Linked DNA regions of Homo sapiens: regions 2, 3 and 4 are each linked to region 1. The links are contacts of gene promoters, found by promoter capture Hi-C in blood cells and fetal thymus (Javierre and others, 2016). All regions are on one chromosome and are shown on one strand. The core of a region is centred on a gene start or on the middle of the fragment in contact, and the rest is flanking DNA. Distances in the headings are between cores, read along the strand shown.

Region 1 (4,998 bases), core at 1-2,500:
ATGTGACTCACAGGGTGCCCTGGGAAAATCCCATCCCTTCCCAGACTCCAGCTTCCTCCTCTAAAATGGATGGGAAGGAGTGTGGACCCTGCCCTACCCCACACAGCCGTAAGGACAACGTGGGGAGCAGGAAAAGGCTGGACCCTTTGCAGGAGAAAAGCTGTAGAAAGGGCCAAGACCTAGTTCCAGCCCCAAGAGAGAGGGCTGGCTTTTCTCAGGGCCTAGACCAGCAGCCTCAACCCAGCCCCGCCCAAAGTGAATGAGTCAGAGTGGCTGACGGCCTGGAGGCAAACCTTCTCCTGTCACGGGCATGGCCTCCAATACCATTCAGGGCCACTTTGAGTTTGAGGCTCTGTGCCCACAATTCTGGGATGCAACAGGGAGAGATGTATGGCTGTCTTTAACAAGTGAGTGAGGGTTTCTTCTGAAAGGGAAGCAACCCAAAATGTCTTCAATGATGGGCTGGGGCTCGACAAGAGGGGTGGGGCTGGGAGGCCACAAAGCAGGGATTCTGAAGGAGGCTGGGGAAGGATGCTCGAAAGCCACCGTGGGGTCCCAGAGGCAGGCCTGCCTTGTGGAAACATGCCCCACCCTTGCTCATGCAGTGACCCTTCTGCCTTGAATTGGATGTTCACTCTGTTCCAATGACAGCCACAAACTCTTTTGGCTGGGGTGGAGGGCTGGGGGCTTGGCAAGGCAGGGGCGGGGGGGGAAATTGAGGACATTTCTGGCATCTTTAAATTATAGATCCTAATGCTTCAAAATCATTCCTTCCAATCCCTCTCCTAAAAGAGTCATGGGCCCAGGGAGGGAACATGTGGCCTGGGGTCCCACAGCTAACGATGGCCTAAGAGAGACCCATCTTCTGACTTTCATCCAGTGCTTTCTCAGCTTTCCCACCCCTGACTGAAAATCCCCCTGCAAGTAGGCATTCTGAGCCAGGCCAGCCCACCCTTCTCACTTCTCTTTTGTGCTCAACCCCGGATCTGAACCTGCTTTCTTCTAAGCCACTGAGGTGCTTATCAAATGTGAAAAAGAAATCAAAACTGTAGCAGACATTTTAACCTAGCTCACCTGAGTGAGCTCCCAGGAAGAGGAATAAATCAGGCCCTGAAACCAGGCCCCAGGCATCCAGAGATACAGTCCTCCTCCCGCATCCGGCCCGCACCAGGCAGGTAAAGACAGGTAACATACCTTGCTGTGTGTTCTGCCGTTCTTTCTCCAGATCGCCTGAAAGCTCCTCTTGAATGTGGGGGTCTCCCCTCCCGGCTCCAGGTTTTTAAACAACAGCCTCACCTCTGGAGACTCCCTGGCTGGGTGTAGCCCCACCGCAGGGCGGGTCTCAGGAATCTGGCAGCCGTCACACCCATCTGTCGTCACTGCACCCCCACCTCCCAGGACGGGACTGGGCAAGTGGGTTGGTCGGTCCGTCCCAGAGTTCTTGTAGTGAGCTCCACAATGCCCACCTGCCTGTGGGGGCTGCAAGGGGCCCCTCAAACAGAAAGCACAAGGCACATGTAAGTGATCATCAGAGACCAGAATTCACAGGGTGGGGAAGGGCCCTTGCATTTGTGCCAGGCAATGAACTCAGCATTTTCCCAAAGCCAGCAGGGGTCAGCTTCTTCTTGTGACCTGGACCACCCCAGACAGAAGATCAGGCAGAGAACACAAAGATTAGGGCTTATATAGAGAGTTAAAGCTCCAGACATATCACCGGGCTGGAAGGTGAGAAGACTCAAACATCCAGGACCCTGGAAAGCACCATTCCCCTCCCCAGTGAAAAAAAAAATGAAAAATCCCAGCTTCTTGGGGCATTTGGAGGATCCTTAAAAGGCAAGGTTCATCAGGAAGGATTCAAAGCTCAACTCATCCAAGGAAAGCTTAAGAGAAATGAGCAGAGTAACTAAATGGCTCGCCTCCAGCTCCCTCCACAGGGTTGGCAGGGAGCCCTGGGACAGGTAGCTGCCTGTGAGTCACTCCTCCCACCTGTGGGGAGGGTTAGTCTCCTAGCCCCTCCCTCCCTAGGCAGGAATGCCCGCCTGGAGGGCCAGAAAACAGACCTGACCACAAGTGGTGGAAGGAAAGGCTGAAGCATAGCTTGACTGACAAAGTCAAAACAGACTTTCCCTGGCCTCCTGCCAGGCCTGAGAACACAGCTTCTTTTGTGGGCTCCTTGCTCAGGGATCCTGGGCTTCCAGCCACTGTAAATGGAAGTGGCAGGTCCAAATTGAGAGGCTGGTCTCACAGGACACTCTTTCCCCCAGGTTAGGGTCAGAGAGCTTTTAGGGAAACCTGGAGGGTCAGCCAGTCCATATCTTGGCCCTGGAGAGCCTGCACTGGCACCGTTTTGGAATGCTAGGACCTCAAAGCTACTATTTAAAGGAGCTTCTTAACTACGATTCCACTTTGTTAGTGTCTCCTAAACAGAAAGTTCTCCACCATTGGAGGGTTATGTCCAAGAAATTGGCTTGAAGACCCTTAAGGGGGAAATGTAGAATTTTGTGGATTAAATTGGGCATTTCTAACCCTCAGATTCGAATTAAGCATAAGTTCAGGTAGGCAGAAGAAATAGTGTAATTAGCAAGTGGGCAGTGAGTTGTTGATGTAAGTTGATGCATAATTGATAGTCCAATAAATGTTAGAGTCTTGCCCCCTGTAAGCATTCCAGTGAAATCTAGCTCAACTCAGCAAGTAAGGTCAGTAGAAGCAGTGTCCCTTCAACACAGAGAGACCTCCCTCAAGTCCCCCACCGAGAAAGGTCAGCTCTGACTCTGACACACCTGTGTTTTCAGTTCTCCCACCTGGTGGTCTCTTTCTCTCCACTTCCCCAACTCCCTGAACTCAGAGCGCTCATGAAACTTTCGCCCTCTGCCCATCACCAGAGGATGTGACAAAGAACTCATTAATAATTAACTCAGCAGAAGAGAGCAGGTGTTGCAATCCCAGATCCTCAGAGGAGAAAAGGCAGGGCAGGTGTGCGGTGGGCCTCACCATGAGTAGCTGGGGCCCCTTAAATCCTCCTCCTCCTCCCTTTATCTGAGGCCATGAGCCCAGGTAAATACACATTCGGTGTCTCAGACTTCACAGGCTTGGGCAGGTCCTGGAGTGGTTTGGCTTCGCAGGAGGGACATGCCAATTGCTGTGCTTGGCTCTCCCCTACACTCCCGGCAAAGTCCAGGAAGCTGTTTATGCAGACCCCCAAGAGCAGCCCAGCCAGCCTCACTCCTGAGGGACACTGATCATTTCCAAGTGGGGATCCAGTCCCCCAAGAACTCCAGGGCTCCAGGCACAAGCTCTGGAGCTTCAGAACCCAATTTGTTCAGTCAAGTAGCCTAAAATAGAGCCTGAGGCCAGATCAGGGTCCAGCTAAGATTAAAGGGGTGTGGTACTGTGGCTGGAGCCCCTCAGCCTCCCCTGTGTGCACACCTTTCCTCTCTCCCTGCGCCCATCCTCCTACAACAGAGCACTTATCTGCCCTAGAGCCTTGACTTATTAGAATGTGTGCTCAGGAAAGTGGCTAGTGAAGTCATCCCAGACTTCAGTATCTTTCAAACCTCATCACTCCATCAGCAAATTCGGTCAGCTCTGCCTTCCAATAATAATCAGAATCTACTTCTTCCCTCCTGGCCTGAGCCTCTTTTCCTGGGACGTCTGCAACAGCCTCCTCACTGATATACAGTCAAGTCCCAACACAGCAGGTTATGCACCCCGAGCTCAGAATCTTCACATGCCCCTATCCCACTCAGGGCCAAGGCCAGAGCTTTTTCAGAGTCTAGGGGACCCTACACCACCTTCCTCCCATTACTCTTCACCTCTACTACAATGGCCTCTATCCCTGTCTTAGCTCAGGCTTAGGGCTTTGGCTCCAGCTGCTTCTGCTGCCTGGAACGGTCTTGCCCCTGGATATCTACAAAGCTAACTCTCTGACCTCTTTCAAAGTCTTTGTTCAGATCCTAACTTCTCAATGAGGCCTATCCTAAACACACTATTAAAATTACAGCCAACTTCCCTGCCCCATCCCTGTCCCCCATCCTAACACTCCTAACCCCACCTACCCTATATTTTGGTGAGTTATTTATTTACTTATTTGGTAGGGGGGCATCATGTACCAGCTTCTAACCAACTATATAATTTATCTGCTTATGTTTATTTTCTGTCTCTTCCCAACTAGAATGTAATATCCAAGAAGGCAGAGATTTCTATCTTATTCACTACTGTTTTCCAAGTGCCTGGCACATAGTAGGTGCTCAATACTTGTGGAATGAATGGATCCACACTAAAGTACAAACAATTGATACAGTTCAATGCATCCCCTGTGCCGTTGATGTGTAGTTGCATTCTCAGAGGGGACAATCCAGGCTTTGGGCACTGGGATGGATTACTAATAGTGGAAATTCCTGTATCAGCCAGAGTGCGGAGGTCTTTTTTGAGGCACCTATCTCCAATTACAGAAATGTCACCATATTGACAGAGGCAGTCTCCTTCTTTGCCTGCTTCTCAGTCATTCCTGGCAATGTCTCTGACAGGGTGTGGGGGTGGCATTATAAGCTACTGTGTCTATTATCCATCTGTCAGGCTCAAACCGTCCAAGTCGCTAGGGAGATCAGCCAAGATCTGATCAATCAGAGATCAAGGGATAGGGAACAAAGGAAGGAGAAAAGGAGGAAGAAAAGGAGAGAGAAGAGGTTCAGGGGGCATAGGAGAACCTGGTCCAGGCTGTGACTCTCAGGTGTTGGAGGAAGGGGCACCAGGTGACTCAAGCTCAGGCCACACCTGAATACAGTGAATCATGGCTGAGTCCTCGTCTGTGGGACAGGGTGGACTCCAGGAACGGCCCTGGGGATTTGCCATGTGACTAAAGCTTGCGTTGCCCTGCACTACAACACAACTGCTCAGCTGTCCAGACAACTGGTCACACTCTTCTCTGTGCCTCCCCAGGAACCAGGGAGAGAAAGTGGGCCTGGTGTGTTACGGAGGCACAGATAGGAGCCCAGCCTC
Region 2 (4,998 bases), core at 1,460-3,959, 240 kb before region 1:
TATCAAGAAAGTATGCAGCCTTACTCAATCTGAGGCACAGAGTAAGCCTCTGTTTTCATGTGGAGTTACAGACGTTCTGAAATCATTGGGATTGCTTCTCACCCTGAAATGTTCCCTAGAGCATGTCACCCTGAGACTGTCCAGTCCCGATTTTGATACTTACAGTTACAGGAAACTCAATACCTCGCACATAAGCCCATTCCTTCTTCTTTGTTTGGTTTATTCCATAGGCAATGGAGCCCCCAATTTGTTTTTCAACTGTGGTAAAATATATATAAAATTTACCATTTTAGCCATTTTTAAGTGTACAGTTCAGTGGCAGTAAGTTCGTTCACATTACTGTGCTACCATCCATCTCTAGAGCTTTTCATCTTCCCAACCTGAAACTCTATACCCATTAAATAACAGCTTCCCATTGTCCTCTCCCCAAGTCCCTGGCAACCACCATTCTCCTTTCTGTCTCTATGAATTTGACTACTCTAGCACGCATGTAAGTGGAATCATTATGATACTTGTCCTTTTGTGACTGGCTTATTTTACTTAGCACAATATTTTCAAGGTTCATCTGCATTGTAGTATGTGTCAGAATTTCCTTCCTTTTGAAGGCCTAATAATATTTCATTGCATGTATGTAACACATTTTGCTCATCCACTCATTTGTGGATGGATGGTTGGGTTGCTATGACCTTTTGGCTATTGTGAATAATGCTGCTATAAATAGGCATGTAAGCCCATTTCTTCTTGACTGCTAGTTAGTTTTTCCTTATACTCAATTAAAATTTGCCTCCTTGTAACTTCTGCCGGTTGGTCTTCATTCTACTACCTTAACTTCTTGCAAGGCAAACCCTCTCCATTTTCCTTACAGGAAACCTCAAATATTGGAAGACAACCTTGACATTTTAGTCATCTCTTTTATAGCCCAGATACGACAAGTTCTTTTAGTCGTTCAATCATTCCTCATGTAACATATTTTCCAAGCCCTTCACCAACCTAACATGATTCTCTGGACACATCTTAGATCATATTTGCTTTTAGGAAAACCACATGTCACTATTGTTTCATCTTTTGGTTATGGTCCAATAAAGAGTCCTTTACGTAAAAAGCCCTTGCCTTTTCAATATTAGCATCTGCAAAACTAGCTTTCCCTATTCTGTCATTGCACAGTTGATTTTTTTGAGCATTGGTGCAGTAGATTAACATTTATATGTGTTAAGTCTCATCTTCTTGAATCTGATCCAGACTTCTAGTGTATAGAGATTACTTTTAATGTTTTCTCCATCACTCTATGTCATACAAAAAATTGGAAATCTATTTGTTACTGTGTTCCTTCAAATTATTGATTTATATATTAAAGATCACATAGTTATAGCAAAAGTAAACCTTACCAGCCTCTCCTTCCAGATTATCAACACTCTTTAAATACCTAAATTCAACCAACTGGAAATGCACTTAACTTCAACAGTGCCTAATTCAGCTATCGTAGTCTTATCCACTAGGATATCATAGAACACCATGTCAAACATGTTATGGAAATAGAGATATTCTAGGTTTATGGACCTTCACAGATTTGCCAGTGTAGTCAGTTCATAATGGGTCAGTTTATGGTAGCAGTATCCGTACTGGTTGCTAGAGATCACCTCATTCTTTTCTAAGCATGCATAAAGCATGAGTTTAATATACTGTTGAAGAATTCTATCAGATCCAAGGCCAAGTTTTGTTAGAGGTGGCTTCCAAAACTCCTTTTTCCCTCTTTTTGAAAATTAGAAGAATATTTTTCTATTTCTAGTATTCTGGGAAATTTTTCATCTTTGTGATGTGGAAAACAAGAGTTTTGAGATTTCATCTAAAAATGTCTTTATTATATGAGATCCAGCCACCTGGACATGAAGACTGTGATCTGATTCAAAATGACTACATAATAATATCTCTCCACCCACCCTTAACTTATAGATTCTAACCTCTCTAATTTGACTTCCCTATTCTTCTTCTTCTTTTTTTTTGAGACGGAGTCTCACTCTGTCACCCAGGCTGGCGTGCAGTCGCCCAATCTCGGCTCCCTGCAACCTCCGCCTCCTGGGCTCAAGCAATTCTCCTGCTTCAGCCTCCCAAGTAGCTGGGATTACAGGCATGTGCCACAACCCCTGGCTAATTTTTGTATTTTTAGTAGAGACAGGGTTTCATCATGTTGGCCAGGCTGGTCTTGAACTCCTGACCTCAGGTGATTTGCCCGCCTCACCTCCCAAAGTGCTGGGATTACAGGAGTAAGCCACCACGCCTGGCTTCCCTATTCTTGAAAGAGATTGAACTTCAACTTCCACTGGGCTTTCATCTTCTCTCATTTATTTGTTAACTTGACAATTTCCTCAAAGAGTTGGCCCATCCATTCTTGATCATTTTCATTGTTTTTCTTGTATATTTAAGTCATTTTTTTGGTTGAGAGAAGATTTGTGATCCACAGTAGAAACGAAGGAGATGACAGATACCCCGGCACCAAAACTGACACCAGGTTTTTGTTGCTTCTTCCACTATATAATGGAGAAGTTCTGTTTACTCTAGTTGTGCAACTACTGTTAACATTGGCTTAAGGAAACCCAAGAAACTGAATCACATCAAAGGTATGTCAGAGGTATGTGAACCAGAGCAACTCCATCTTGAATAAGAGCTGGATAAAATAAGGCTGAGACCTACTGGGCTGCATTCCTAGATGGTTAAGGCATTCTGAGTCATAGGATGAGACAGGAGGTCCACACAAGATACAGGTCATAAAGACCTTGCTGATAAAACAGGTTGCAGTAAAGAAGCCAGCTAAAATCCACCAAAACTAAGATGGCCATGAGTGTGACCTCTGTTGTCCTCACTGCTACACTCCCACCAGCGCCATGACAATTTACAAATGCCATGGCAACATCAGGAAGTTACCCTATATGGTCTAAAAGAGGGAGGCATGAATAATCCACCCCTTGTTTAGCATATAATCAAGAAATAACCATAAAAACGGGCAACCAGCAGCCCTTGGGACTGCTCTGTCTATGGAGTAGCCATTCTTTTATTCCTTTACTGTCCTAATAAACTTGCTTTCACTTTACTCTATGGACTGGCTCTGAATTCTTTCTTGCACAAGATCCAAGAACCCTATTTTGGGGTCTGCATCAGGACCTCTTCCCTGAAACAGATAGACATGGACATCAGCCCCACTCGTTGCCACTTTATTGACCCAGGGAATATCAGGGCTCAGTATCCTCATATCTCAAATGAAGAACTGAATTCAATCTTCCTAACTGAGGCAATACTGCCACTTTGAAAGGGAAGTTCTCTGCTATGTGGAACTATATCACATTCCGTAGATTGCTTAGCATCCATGATTTTGGGACATTAAATGCAATTGTGTCCCTTGGTCACTGTCACTGTGAAAATCCCAAACAACCATATACATATCCAAATGTCCCTGGCTGAGACCCACTGGTATGATCTCTAATGTCCCCTTCAGCTCTGAATTTCTGGATCTATCCTTGTTTGCAGACAGATGCTTTGAAGTTTTCAATCATTAATAACTTTATGTTAAGTTTTAGTCAATAATGTATTACATTATTGGAAGTCATTTTCTAGATGAAATAGAGGTGGTCTGTTCAATTACAGCAGACATGCAACATTTTAATCCAATTTTTCAAAATTAGCAGGAGTAACTAATTACAAATCTAGACATTAAGAAAAACTGGTACACAATTAATCATTTAAGTCAACTGAATGAAGAGCCTAGATGAATTTTAAAATGTTGACAAATTCTTATTACAGCATCACAATAAAGAAAAGCAAGCTGCTAAAGCTATGTATTTTTCCTTTGTTTTAAAAAAGTGAAAGGCTAACCAGTTTCTTATTCTCTACTGTAACTTGAAATTCTTCTGCAGATCAAAAGAATTTCCCCAAATCCAAGAGAATTATCTTTCTGCGCAGAACTGTGTATTTGCCTTCTCTCAGAGCAAATAATTTAGTCCATCAACATTGTGCTTTCCAAGGAGGCTTATTTTTTATCCTTCCTCTTTGCAATATCTCCCTGTCCCCACTCTAGTAGCACACACACCAGCCCCTTCCATCACCCCTACAACTGCCACTGGCACCACCGACACTACCACCACCCAAGGAGAGCCAGAATGACGACCAGCTTGCTTCCCCTCAGCAGAAATGGGCATGACTACTCAAATGCAATACAGGGTTCTTTACAGACAACATGCTCAGAAAATGTTTTCTTAGCAGAGCGGAAGGCCACCCCCTACTTCCCACCAAAAATATCTGGCCTCTCTCAAGGCTTTCTGAGCAAGTCCAGACAGACAGAAAAGGGTTGTGAAACTGAAGATGCCTCTTTATTTTTTTTTCTTGGTAGGAGAGTGAGAAATGGGGAAGGAATAATTTTACAACAATGAGTTCTGTCAGGCTTCTTTTCCCTTTCCAACAGTTCTAGGATCTAGCATCAGCAAAACATGTTATGTCATGCCCTGGTGAGGAGACAAAAAGGGAAGGAATTCAAACTGCAATGGGTGGGGCTTTAAGATGCGTGGCCTCTCTTATTGCTATTTATTTCCTTTCTCACTGGCCTTTGGAAAAAAAGAAAAAAAAAACGGCAAAGGATTTGGGGGCTACACCAAAAGAAAGTGAAGGAGCAGAGTATGTGAGAAACTGAAATCTATGTAACTACTTGAAGCAATTGGAAGTTCAGCCCAAACCTCAAATTCATTTTTGTTTTTCTGCTAATTATCTGGCATAGAAAGCCAGCCCTGGGGCAGCTGCTTCCCAGCAAATGGATCCAGGTCTTCAGTCTGGATTGGGACCAGGCTTTGGACAAAGGCTGTGTAATTTTCATAGCTTCTTTTGCCATTTACAGAAGAAATGGGACTAGCTACTCTTCCTTCAGGACAGAGCCAACAAATACAGGTTCCTACTGTAGCTGCTGGGATCCAGGTTAGATAATGAAGTTACTGGCAGTGCATCCTGCAACAAAAGGAT
Region 3 (4,998 bases), core at 1,542-4,041, 220 kb before region 1:
CTGACCAGTGGCTGAAAGAGTAGCATGCATACTTCCCAGTTCTGGATCCTAACCAAGAAATGTCTCAGGGAGAGGTCCTCCCAGCTCCTCAATACATGTAACAAAGCTGTAAACCTGGATCAGGAGAAGGCTGGTGATGAAGTTCCAGTCTACAGGCACCCCAAGGGCCATCCCCATTATGGTCATGGACCCTGATGTCCCCAGCAGCTTCCTGGGAACACACTGCTTCCCTACAACACACTGTCCTTACTGTTTCACCCCCAAGAGTCCAGTCCACTCCAAATGTTGTGCAGTGGAACCTAGGTAGCTTATCTTTTGGTGTTCTTCCCCTATAGAAATAACCGCGGTTGATTCAACAGACCTTTATTGAAGACCTCAGGCACAGTGCTAGGCATGGAGGGGAAGCTGCAAAGTTAGATGAGCTTATAAGCAGAATTTAGTCAGAGAGACCCATACCTAACTCTAATGCTAACCACGTGTTAAAACACTTTGGAGAATTTCAGGTCTTTTATCTTTTTCTTCAAAAACTGAAGATGTGGCAGTTAGTTTTGGGGCTGGAAATTTGAGCAGAGAGAATGGCAGAGTCTTTTCAGGAGCCAGAAATGCATGTGAGGACCAAGAACTTCTAACAGTAGAGGAACTCTGGCTGGGGTAGTTGAGGGGGAGGAGAAATGAGGATCAAGGGGGCATACAGTGCATGAAAACAAAAGGTGAGGCCCAAGATCAGCCAAAGTGAGTAAACCACGGTTACCATGGCTACTCTTCAGTGGAGACGGAAGGAAGCCCTGTATCCTCCCCTTCCAACCACACTACGCTGTTCCACTCCCCATCTCCATCTCCTGTACCCCAGACACACTCAGGCAAGCACAGCACCACCCTGGATGACTCTGCGGAATGCCTCTCAGAGACACGGAACTAGAAACCTAGGGGAAGAGGGACATCAAGGCTTTTGCCTCACAAGCTGACTCTGGAACAAAGAGCCAGGCTGAGGGGCTGGAAGAAGAAACTTCCAGCAGAGCCACCCAGATATGCTTCCCCCACCCTCTAGACCTTCCACACCAACCAGTGTCCAGTCAGTCCACAGAGCATCCTCCTGGGCTGTGGTGACTGAAGTTGAAGGGAAGAAAATATAATAATAATTTTGGGCAGGTCGTCTTTCTTTACTGTATTGGATGGATATAGAATCAATAAATCTATAGGTTTATCCCATTTTTCTGAACAAATTTAGAGGTCAAAGATGAACCCTCAAGGGGACAGAATATGACCAGCAGGACTATTGATATCGTCTGCCCTAGGCACTCCTCCTTACCCTCCTCTCCCCTATATTTTGGGGGCAGTCATATTCCTCAGCAGTCAGTTGCTCTGCCTCCAGTCCTAACTGGCTTCTGAAAAACAGTTCTGGTCCATTCATTCCCTGTCTCGAGACTTCCGGAGCTTCCTGACCTGTGAATGAAATCCACAGGCCCATCACAAGATGGCTGCGCTCTCCAGTCCCCGGCACCCCAGGCTGCTCTGAACATGTGAGAGCTCCTCCCTCAAGGCCTGAATTTTCGCAGGTCTTCATCACACTCAGCCCGCCATCATTTTTTCAGATTCAGTTCCAATATGTCACTCTGTCTGTAGAGCCTTCCCTGAATCTCACAGACAAATGCGGCAGTTCCCTTTGTGGGGGATATTCATCATGTTTTTCCTCATTGGCCTATGTTTTTGCCTCTTCTTGTAGATGTCCATCTAGGCTGGGAGCTCCTAGGGGGTAAACGCAGCCTCTCACTCACCTGGCACAGAGTCGATGCTCATGGAATGATACGTGATGGGGAGAGTGAGTAAGTGAATGAATGAATGAATGCTATTCTGGAAGGAAGAGGGAGAGAGGGAGCAGGGAAAGGTCAGAAGGGGGCCCAGAGTCTTCAGCACACAATGTGGGTGTATCACTGTGGCCAGGAACAATTCGCTTCTCTGCCTGCATTACTTTTTGGGAAATGGGAGAGCTGAGGCTCAGTGTAGGCAAACTGGGTCCAGTCAGCAGGGAAGCCATGAGCTCCACGGTTTAGGGGAGGAGTCCGGTGCTTAAGGAAGCTATCACGTGGAAGATCTCCCTGCCCTCCTCCTATTGGTCTGTATTGGTTTTTCTTCTTCACCAGTGGAGGCTTTTCTTCTCCCAGGAAGAATCCAGAATAGTTCAGACAAGCTTCAGGTCCGCCAGAACCGGGGAAAACAACGTGTAGGGTTTGTTTTAAAGGGCTTTTAAATGGGGTTTGGGAGATCCAGGTAGATTAGAATCTTGACTCTGCACTGGCTGTGCAAGACAGAAATTCACCTTTCAAAACTTCTGTTCCCCAGTCTATGCGGTAAGAAGTTTAGATTAGCTGATTTCTAGGGAGATTTTGGGCAGGCATGATTCAGTTCCATGAAGGGCTGTGGGACAGGACTGCACTAAGAGGTCCTATAGATTGGATTCTTCAGTTCCCTCCCTTCCGCTGGAGAATAGAGGAATCTGCCTTCGCTGCACACTAGATTTACCTGGAGAACAAATGGAAAGCAGGCCAGGATCCTGGGTGAAATGTGGCACATTTGAGGAGACTTCAACTTCCCTTGCCCTCCAGGTGTGCACTTGGAAGGGGGAACGAGGGAGGGGGAAGCTGGCAAGATGGGCCGAGAGATAGGGGAGGGGCAGGAGGCGGAGCCCAAGTTGCGCATGGAAGCGGGGGTGGGGTAAAATAATCAAGTTTATAGACCGCCCTCTTTAAAGTTACTAATGAGCTTGCCTTCTCTTTCCTTAATTTCCCCTCGCAGTGTGGTCTTTTCCCCACCCCCAGACATGAAAGGGAAGCAGGTCACAAAGCCTTTCGGATTATAAAAGAAACACTTGCTTCTCACAAGGGGAGCAGCAGACTTACTCTGTACTAAATGCCAGGATAAGCCTCTGGCTGGGCCTCGACTGTGACCCTCCGGCCTCTTTCTACAGCTCTGCCTGGATGGACTGGCCTATCTCTGCTGGATTCCCGAAGTGCATTGTGTAGAGACAGCAACTCAGGTCAGGCTAAAAGCTCAAGCAAGCAAGCGCGCACACACACGCGCGCACACACACACACACACACACAAACACTCAGCTTCCTTAGGACAAGATAAAATCTTAGCATTCCCCTCTCCCCGATTAGGTAGGTCTCTGGGAGGACTAAGGCTTCAGGTGCAAGGCTCAGATAACCTGCAGTGTCTCTCCAACTCTGGGATGACAAAGACCTCACTTCCCTTTTCTGGTGTTCACACAACAATGAGAAAGTACGGGTAGCCTGCAGAAAGACCTCTCCATTCATGGTCCCCCAGGGGTGTGGGTTCTGAGAGGTGGGACCAGCTGCCAGGCCCTTTCTCCATTGGTTGAGTTCAGCAGGTAACCTGAAGCTTTGCTGAGAGGTGCATAAATAAAGAGTGAAACTAGTACCACCTCCTTGAAATGGGCTGAGTCCCTCTTGCTCACCCTTGACTTGGAAAAACCAGTTTCTCTTTTATTGTCTGTTACTAATCTCTATTCTAAAAATTCAGCTCAATTCTCAACCATACTCCAAACTCTCTCTTTTCCAGCTACCTTTACTCCCTCTCCTTCAATTCCACTTTCCTCTGCTTACTTTTTTTTTTTTTCTGACAGGGTCTCACTTTGTCGCCCGGGCAGGAGTGCAGTGGCTCAATCTTGGGCTCACTGCAGCCTCAACCTCCCAGGTTCAAGCGATTCTCCTGCCTCAGCCCCTCAAGTAGCTGGGACTACAAGCGCACACCACCACGCCTGACTAATTTTTTGTATTTTTTTGTAGAGGCGGGGTTTCACCATGTTGCCCAGACTGGTCTTGAACTCCTGAGCTTAAGCAATCCACCTGCCTCGGCCTCCCAAAGTGTTGGGATCACAGGCGTGAGCCACCGCATCCGGCCTCATGTTCTTTTTCATTAAAGAGAGAAATCAACTATTCAGGACCGGCCCCCACCTTTCCTCAGGAGTCATTTCTGTTCCGCACAGGCCTGCTGAACTGGGTGCTTTATATAGGGTAAGTGTTTCTCATTTTTTGTTCCCTGTCCTCAAGCCTTAGGGGCAAAAGAAACATCCAAGATTTGAAATTTCTTTTCTTCTTCTCATCTGCATGGCTGTAGCCATCTCTCTGTTCTGCATTATCTTATGACAAAAAAAAAAAATTCTTATTTTGAAGCAAACTCAAAGCTAGGTCCTGATGTCTCAAGGCACAGGTACTCGTACTTAAAGGTGAGTCTGAAATCTGTGGATTTGGGGAACTTTGGAAAAACAAAGATGAGTGGCTAGATCAGGGGGCTCATTGGGCAGGAAGAGGAGACTGGAAAATGCCATATTCACTGCAAGTCAATTATCAACTTCCTCCAAGGCTAAAATAGCTGAACCTGCTGCATTTTAAACCAATCCTCAGCCACTTTGGTGTTTTCTCAAGGATTTCCAGGGATCCCAGGCAGTAAATTCTGCTGATAATAGGAATTGGTGTGATAAGGTGGGTGCTGAGCAGTTTAAGCACCAAGATTGTAGCTCTGTCTGGTTTTGTGGAGATTTACTCAACTAGAAGAACAGAGATTTGGCTGGTTTTTCAGTCCTGGGGTGCAGGGTGCACCTGTACTGGAAAATTTAGGACGTGGTTTCATTCTTTGAGTCTCATGTTCAAGTTGGTTTTAATGTTATGAAGACACTTGGGACGTAATCCTGAGGGCAGCTGGGGGGAAGAAAGTGGTCACTGGATGGACTTACCCTGTAGCGAGCCCATGCATGGTTTGTTCTCTGATCGTGCATGTGCTTGGCTCTAGACCCATGTAACCATGGTGAAGGCCACTGGGGGATTCAGTTGGCAAAGGCATAGTGGGCAGAAGAATCTTGAACAAGGAGTCCAGAGCAGGTCAAGTCTCCTGATACAGGTTGTGACTCATGGTTTTTTGTCTCTGCCTGTAGCAGCTACAGGTCTGTAAAGCAAGGGGAGAGTGATAAGGAAAGAACTC
Region 4 (4,998 bases), core at 917-3,416, 190 kb after region 1:
ATCCCAGCACTTTGGGAGGCCAAGGCAGGCGAATCACCTGTGGTCAGGAGTTCAAGACCATCCCGGCTAACATGGTGAAACCCCGTTTCTACTAAAAATATAAAAAATTAGTTGAGCGTGGTGGTGTGTGCCTATAATCCCAGCTACTCGGGAGGCTGAGGCAGGAGAATAGCTTGAACCCGGGAGGCAGAGGTTGCAGTTAGCTGAGATCGTGCCATTGCACTCCAGCTTGGGCAACAAGAGCGAAACTCCATCTCAAAAAAAAAAAAAAAAAAAAAAACCAACTCTAATTAGAGGGTTAGTAATACTGAGCCTTCTATTACTGTTTGGGATAGTGGCGGCCCTTCTGGCCCTAGAGCTCATGTATTTTATTGTTTTGCTAAGTCTCTCTCTGTTGATAAATAGAAAAAGCTTTTTTATTTTTTAGATTTTTATTTTCAATTTTCATGGTTGCATAATATGTAAAAGGCTTTTTTTAACCCTTGCCTGTAGAGTTATGTAAATTACATTCTGTTACCTCATCCTGATTTCACAATAATGTCCAGTGGATTTAAGTTCTGACTTTACTGTTTTATTAACTCACAATGGGTGCATTTTCTCAGAGAATCCTAAACAGATACGCCAGAAATCTCCCAAGCTTTGGAGCACATTAGATGATGCACTTTGGCATTGCATTACCTTTTAGTTTATGCTAAAACGATTAGGATGGTGCTCCCCAGATAACGTCCTTGTTCCCAGGATGGGGAGGGAGGCGTCCCAGCAGCTTGCCTAGGCATAGCAAAGCTGGCATGGCATGACCTCTTAGAGAGTTGAGGATTGATTAAATTTGTGTTTCCCAGGCTCCATTCTTGGCTACCCAGAGAAGGCTGCTTGGCCAAAGAGTGTTAATGAATGCCTGCTTGTTGCCCTCATTATTTGCTCTGTTCCAGTAAGTTGTCGTTTCCATTCATGTTGGAAAGTATTTGGGGAAGTTGCACTCATCAGGTCTTAAAAGCTCTTAGCTTTCTATCATCTTGACAAATGAAAGCAAGCCCTTTAAGTGAAGTGGATGGATTGGAAAACTTCCCAGTGTGATTGTCTATGGCAACTGTGAATTAAGCTGGGATGGGAATTAAGCTCTTTAATATCTCAGCAGCTTTTCAAGGACAGGGCATGGAGCCCTTTGTAAGCAGGACAGTCTCCTGTATTACACTGTCTATTTACCAAGCCATGTTGCCCTCAAAGTCACGATAAGGACAAATCTCAGCATATGCCATTTGCTTTATGCCCTGGGCCAGGTTAATTGGTGTTTCTTTTGTAGAAGATGAATGAAAATAATGTGCTTTAGAGTTCTGCAACAGCTAATTATCTCAAGGTTTCCAGCTATAGAATTTTTTGCTCGAGAGATCACCAAGGTGATGATGGATGTTTTGGTGTGCAGTGCCTTTGTGATTTTTTTTTTTTTAATTTGACCTTAGAATAAGTACTTTTTTTTTCTTTTTCTTTTTCTTTTTTTTTTTTTAAGACAGTCTCACTTTGTTGCTCAGGCTGGAGTGCAGTGGTGTGATCTCGGCCCGCTGCAGCGTCTGCCTCTTGGGTTCAAGCAATTCTCGTGACTCAGCCTCCTGAGTAGCTGGGATTACAGAATTGCATCACCACGCCTGGCTGATTTTTGTATTTTTAGTAGACGAGGTTTTGCCATGTTGGCCAGGCTGGTCTTGAACTCCTGGCCTCATGTGATCTGCGCACTTCAGCCTCCCAAGAAGTGTTGGGGTTACAGGCATGAGCCACCGTGCCCGGCCAGAAAATGTACATGTATTTTATATTGTAGTATCTGACTCTGTTTTTATATTCTCTATGACAGCTGGCAATGTTAGGAAGATTAGAATTCATTTTTGAGTTAGCAAAAATTTTTTAACCTGAAGATTTGTTTTATGTGGGGAAGATTAAACTAGCAGAATCTTAGAATTGGATGAACATTTGGTCATGATTGCCCTCCCAGTGATGGGTCACAGCTCTTTTCCAGTGCGTTATCAGTGGGTTTCCACAGCAGGGAGGATCTCAACCAGGAGGCAAGTCAGAAACTGGAGGTGGGATTTGTGGAGTTTGGAAAGGCTGCTGGGAATTTCTGATTACTCCCTTCCCCTACAGGAGAATCCCAGTTCTAGAAGTAGTAGACTTGGTCTTTATGGACCGTAGGAAGGAGCCAGTCTTTCAAGTTCATTGTGGTTGCCTCATTTGTCTTTAACAGTGGCTCGTGAAATAGACATGTGGAAGGTACTGTAAGGGTGATTAGGCTGTGTTTGTAGGAGTCACTGAAAACAAAGCATATATAAGGGAGGAGGAAGGCAGGGTAAGGGGTGCTCAAGCTATGGAGACTTGCCACTAACTGCCCCTTGGAAGAGGCCCTGGCCATGTTCTCTGTTGCCAGGAGATACTCAGTCTCTATTGTGGTTGCATTGGGACTGAGACAGATTTTCATGTGTGTGTGTTTAATATAACACTTAACAGTTTTATTGTTTTGTTTTTCCTGATTGTGAGGGTATTTCACAGTTATTGTAGAGATATTGGAAATTTTAGGTTAAAAATCTCACTGCCCTGATATAAATACTCTTTTTGGTAATTTTTTTCCATCTTTTTTATGTGAAAAATGTGTGCACATGCACACGTGCACACACACACGTGTTTTTTTAAAAAACAATACTAAAATTAGGATCTTTTTTTGTTTTAAGGATTTTTTTTTCCTTTGTCTTAGATGTTTTATGTGCTCATTTAAAAAAATTCAAAGACTAACATTTTGGCCTGTATATTTGTATATTGTGGATTTTTGTGTATATTTTTAAGTTACTATATATAGCTCTACGACATCCTCTCTTCCCCCAGGTTTTTATTTGAAAAGATTTCATTGTGAAAGAAAATTGTTAAGAGACTAACAATAAACATCTGTTTATTTATAAATGCTTTTACCCCAAATTCCACCAGCTGTTCTCATTTTATCACATTTGCACATACCCATCTTCTCTCTATCCCCACTCACATCTCTTATTTTTTCTTCCTGAACCATTTGAAAGTAAAGTAGCGTGAGTCTTCATTGACACTTCACCCCTAAATATTTTAGCATGTAGCTCCTAAAAACAAAAACATTCTTTTATCTAACCATAGCACCATTATCATGCTACCTGATGTTACTACAGTAATATCATCTGATATCTAGTCTATATTCAGATTTTGCTAGTTGTCACCAAAATGACCATTATAGCTCTTTCCCCTCCGGCCAAAAAGGATTCAGTAAGGATCATATATAGCATTTGGTTAACTTACTGCTTTTGTTTCTTTAATCTAGTTTAGTTCTCAATTGGGGAACAATTTTGCTCCCTCAGGGACATTTGGCAATATCTGGAGACATTTTTGGTTATCACAACTGGAGGATTATTCTGGTGGTTCCAGTGGGTTGAGACCAGTGATGCTGTGAAACACCTTCGTTCACAGGACAGCCCCCAACCACAAAGAATTATCTGTCTCAAAATGTCAGCAGTGTTAACACTGAGAAACCCTCATCCAGAATAACTCTCTTGCTTTTTTACTTTTTCATGACATCGACATCTTTTTGAAGAGTCCAATCTGGTTTCCTGCAGTATGTCTCACAGTCTGGATTTATCTAATTGTTCCCTTGTTATTTAGATCAGTGGTTCTCAAACTTTGCCGTACGTTAGAATAGAAGCTTTTAAAAATCCAAATGCCCAGGTCACATCCCAGTACCAATTAAATCGCAGTGTCTGGGATGGGGACCAAACCTAAGTATTAATAAAAAAAATAAAAAAACAACCAGCTAGGTGATTTCAATGTGCAGCAGTTTGGGGATGACTGATTTAGAATAAATATCTTTTGATAAGAATTCTACTTAGGGAATATTACGTACTTTCTACCTCATCTCATCAGAAGGCACGTAATGTCACTTTGTCTCATTCTTGGTGATGCCAAATCACTAAAATCACTTAGTGTGTGTATGTAATTAATAAGTAACGTGTGAGGTAAACATCACATTGTTTTTAATGGCTACATAGTATTACATTGGTTAATTAAGCTAGCTTCCTTTTAGTGGGCATATAGGGGTTTTTTTTCTGTTTTCTGCTGTTGTATATAATAATACGCAAAACATCCATATGCATATGTTTTGATGAAATACTTACCTAGTTATTTTCTTGGGATAGATTTTGAAAGGAAAACTCGTTAGCACAGAGGCTGTACACAGTTAAAAATGTGTCATGCGTTGCCACTTATTTGCTCCTTTGCATCTTTTCCATATCTTCTCCTGAATTCATAGACAAAGTAATTTATGCTCCATTCACCTATTTCTCCAAAGCTCCATAGACTGAATTATTGCTACTGATGTGATAGTCAAAATGATACCTCATTGTTTGGATGTCTTTTCTTGCTTTTTTGTGTCTTCTATAACTTTCAATGGAATGTAGAGGCTGAAGTAAATAATACTTATGTCCGGCCGCACCCCTTCCGTAGGCCACTGGTGTGGGTGCTATCAATCTAGTCAGGATTTGATTGTTACTGTAGATACCTTCCCAACACCACAGACCTCAAATTCCTCCAGCAGACAGTGGGCTTGGTGTAGGGTCTCGGGTGCTGGAGGGTTTTTCTCAGTGTCCTGATTGCTCAGCTGTCACTGAGGCCTTGACACGTGTGCCAGAGGAGGGTCTCACTCCACACTCAGACCCCTCCTCACAGGAGGCCTCTTGTTTCTCCTTGCAAGGCATGAAGTCGGGGGGAGGGGGTTCTCCTGGTCCAGCTCAATTTTTGGCAGGCCCTTTTTATTCCAAGCTTTGGGGGTGAGGTTTTCTCAGGGTTCCTGCCCCGCTACCTCCGTGGCAGCCAGACTCCACCTTTTATCTGTGAGGGATCTTTGTGGTGAAGTGTATACAGCTTCTTCCCTAATCGAACTCTGCTTGTATCAGTGCAGGAACTTGGGCTGAACAGGTTTCTTACCCCTTCCTCTGGGGCAGAATG

What was found. Contacts are between HindIII fragments. The CHiCAGO score rates a contact against its expected background, and 5 or more counts as called.
Region 2: a contact is called between a fragment that was not itself captured here and the fragment with the promoter of LAMB3 in region 1, in 1 of 17 cell types (monocytes). The highest score is 8.4, in monocytes.
Region 3: a contact is called between a fragment that was not itself captured here and the fragment with the promoter of LAMB3 in region 1, in 1 of 17 cell types (monocytes). The highest score is 6.3, in monocytes.
Region 4: a fragment that was not itself captured here is called in contact with the fragment with the promoter of LAMB3 in region 1 in 1 of 17 cell types (activated CD4 T cells); the score reaches 5.2 in activated CD4 T cells.

What each region holds. Positions count from the first base shown.
Region 1 is chr1:209,651,175-209,656,172 of GRCh38, forward strand. It overlaps LAMB3 (laminin subunit beta 3), which reads right to left and starts at 1,251. Exons shown (of 23, transcript NM_000228.3): 1 at 1,195-1,251. RefSeq lists an enhancer at 753-1,952. The HindIII fragment of the contact is 2,819 bases long and covers 1-1,878 here.
Region 2 is chr1:209,407,352-209,412,349 of GRCh38, forward strand. No RefSeq gene overlaps it. Among named protein-coding and RNA genes, the nearest start is that of MIR205HG, 19 kb to the right of the region's middle. The HindIII fragment of the contact is 9,121 bases long and covers 1-4,998 here.
Region 3 is chr1:209,425,375-209,430,372 of GRCh38, forward strand. MIR205HG (MIR205 host gene) reads left to right here and starts at 3,446. Exons shown (of 4, transcript NR_145437.1): 1 at 3,446-3,714; 2 at 3,807-4,034. RefSeq lists an enhancer at 2,444-3,367. The HindIII fragment of the contact is 1,211 bases long and covers 2,187-3,397 here.
Region 4 is chr1:209,844,376-209,849,373 of GRCh38, forward strand. The region is part of intron 11 of UTP25 (UTP25 small subunit processome component); the gene reads left to right. Among named protein-coding and RNA genes, the nearest start is that of UTP25, 19 kb to the left of the region's middle. The HindIII fragment of the contact is 3,063 bases long and covers 636-3,698 here.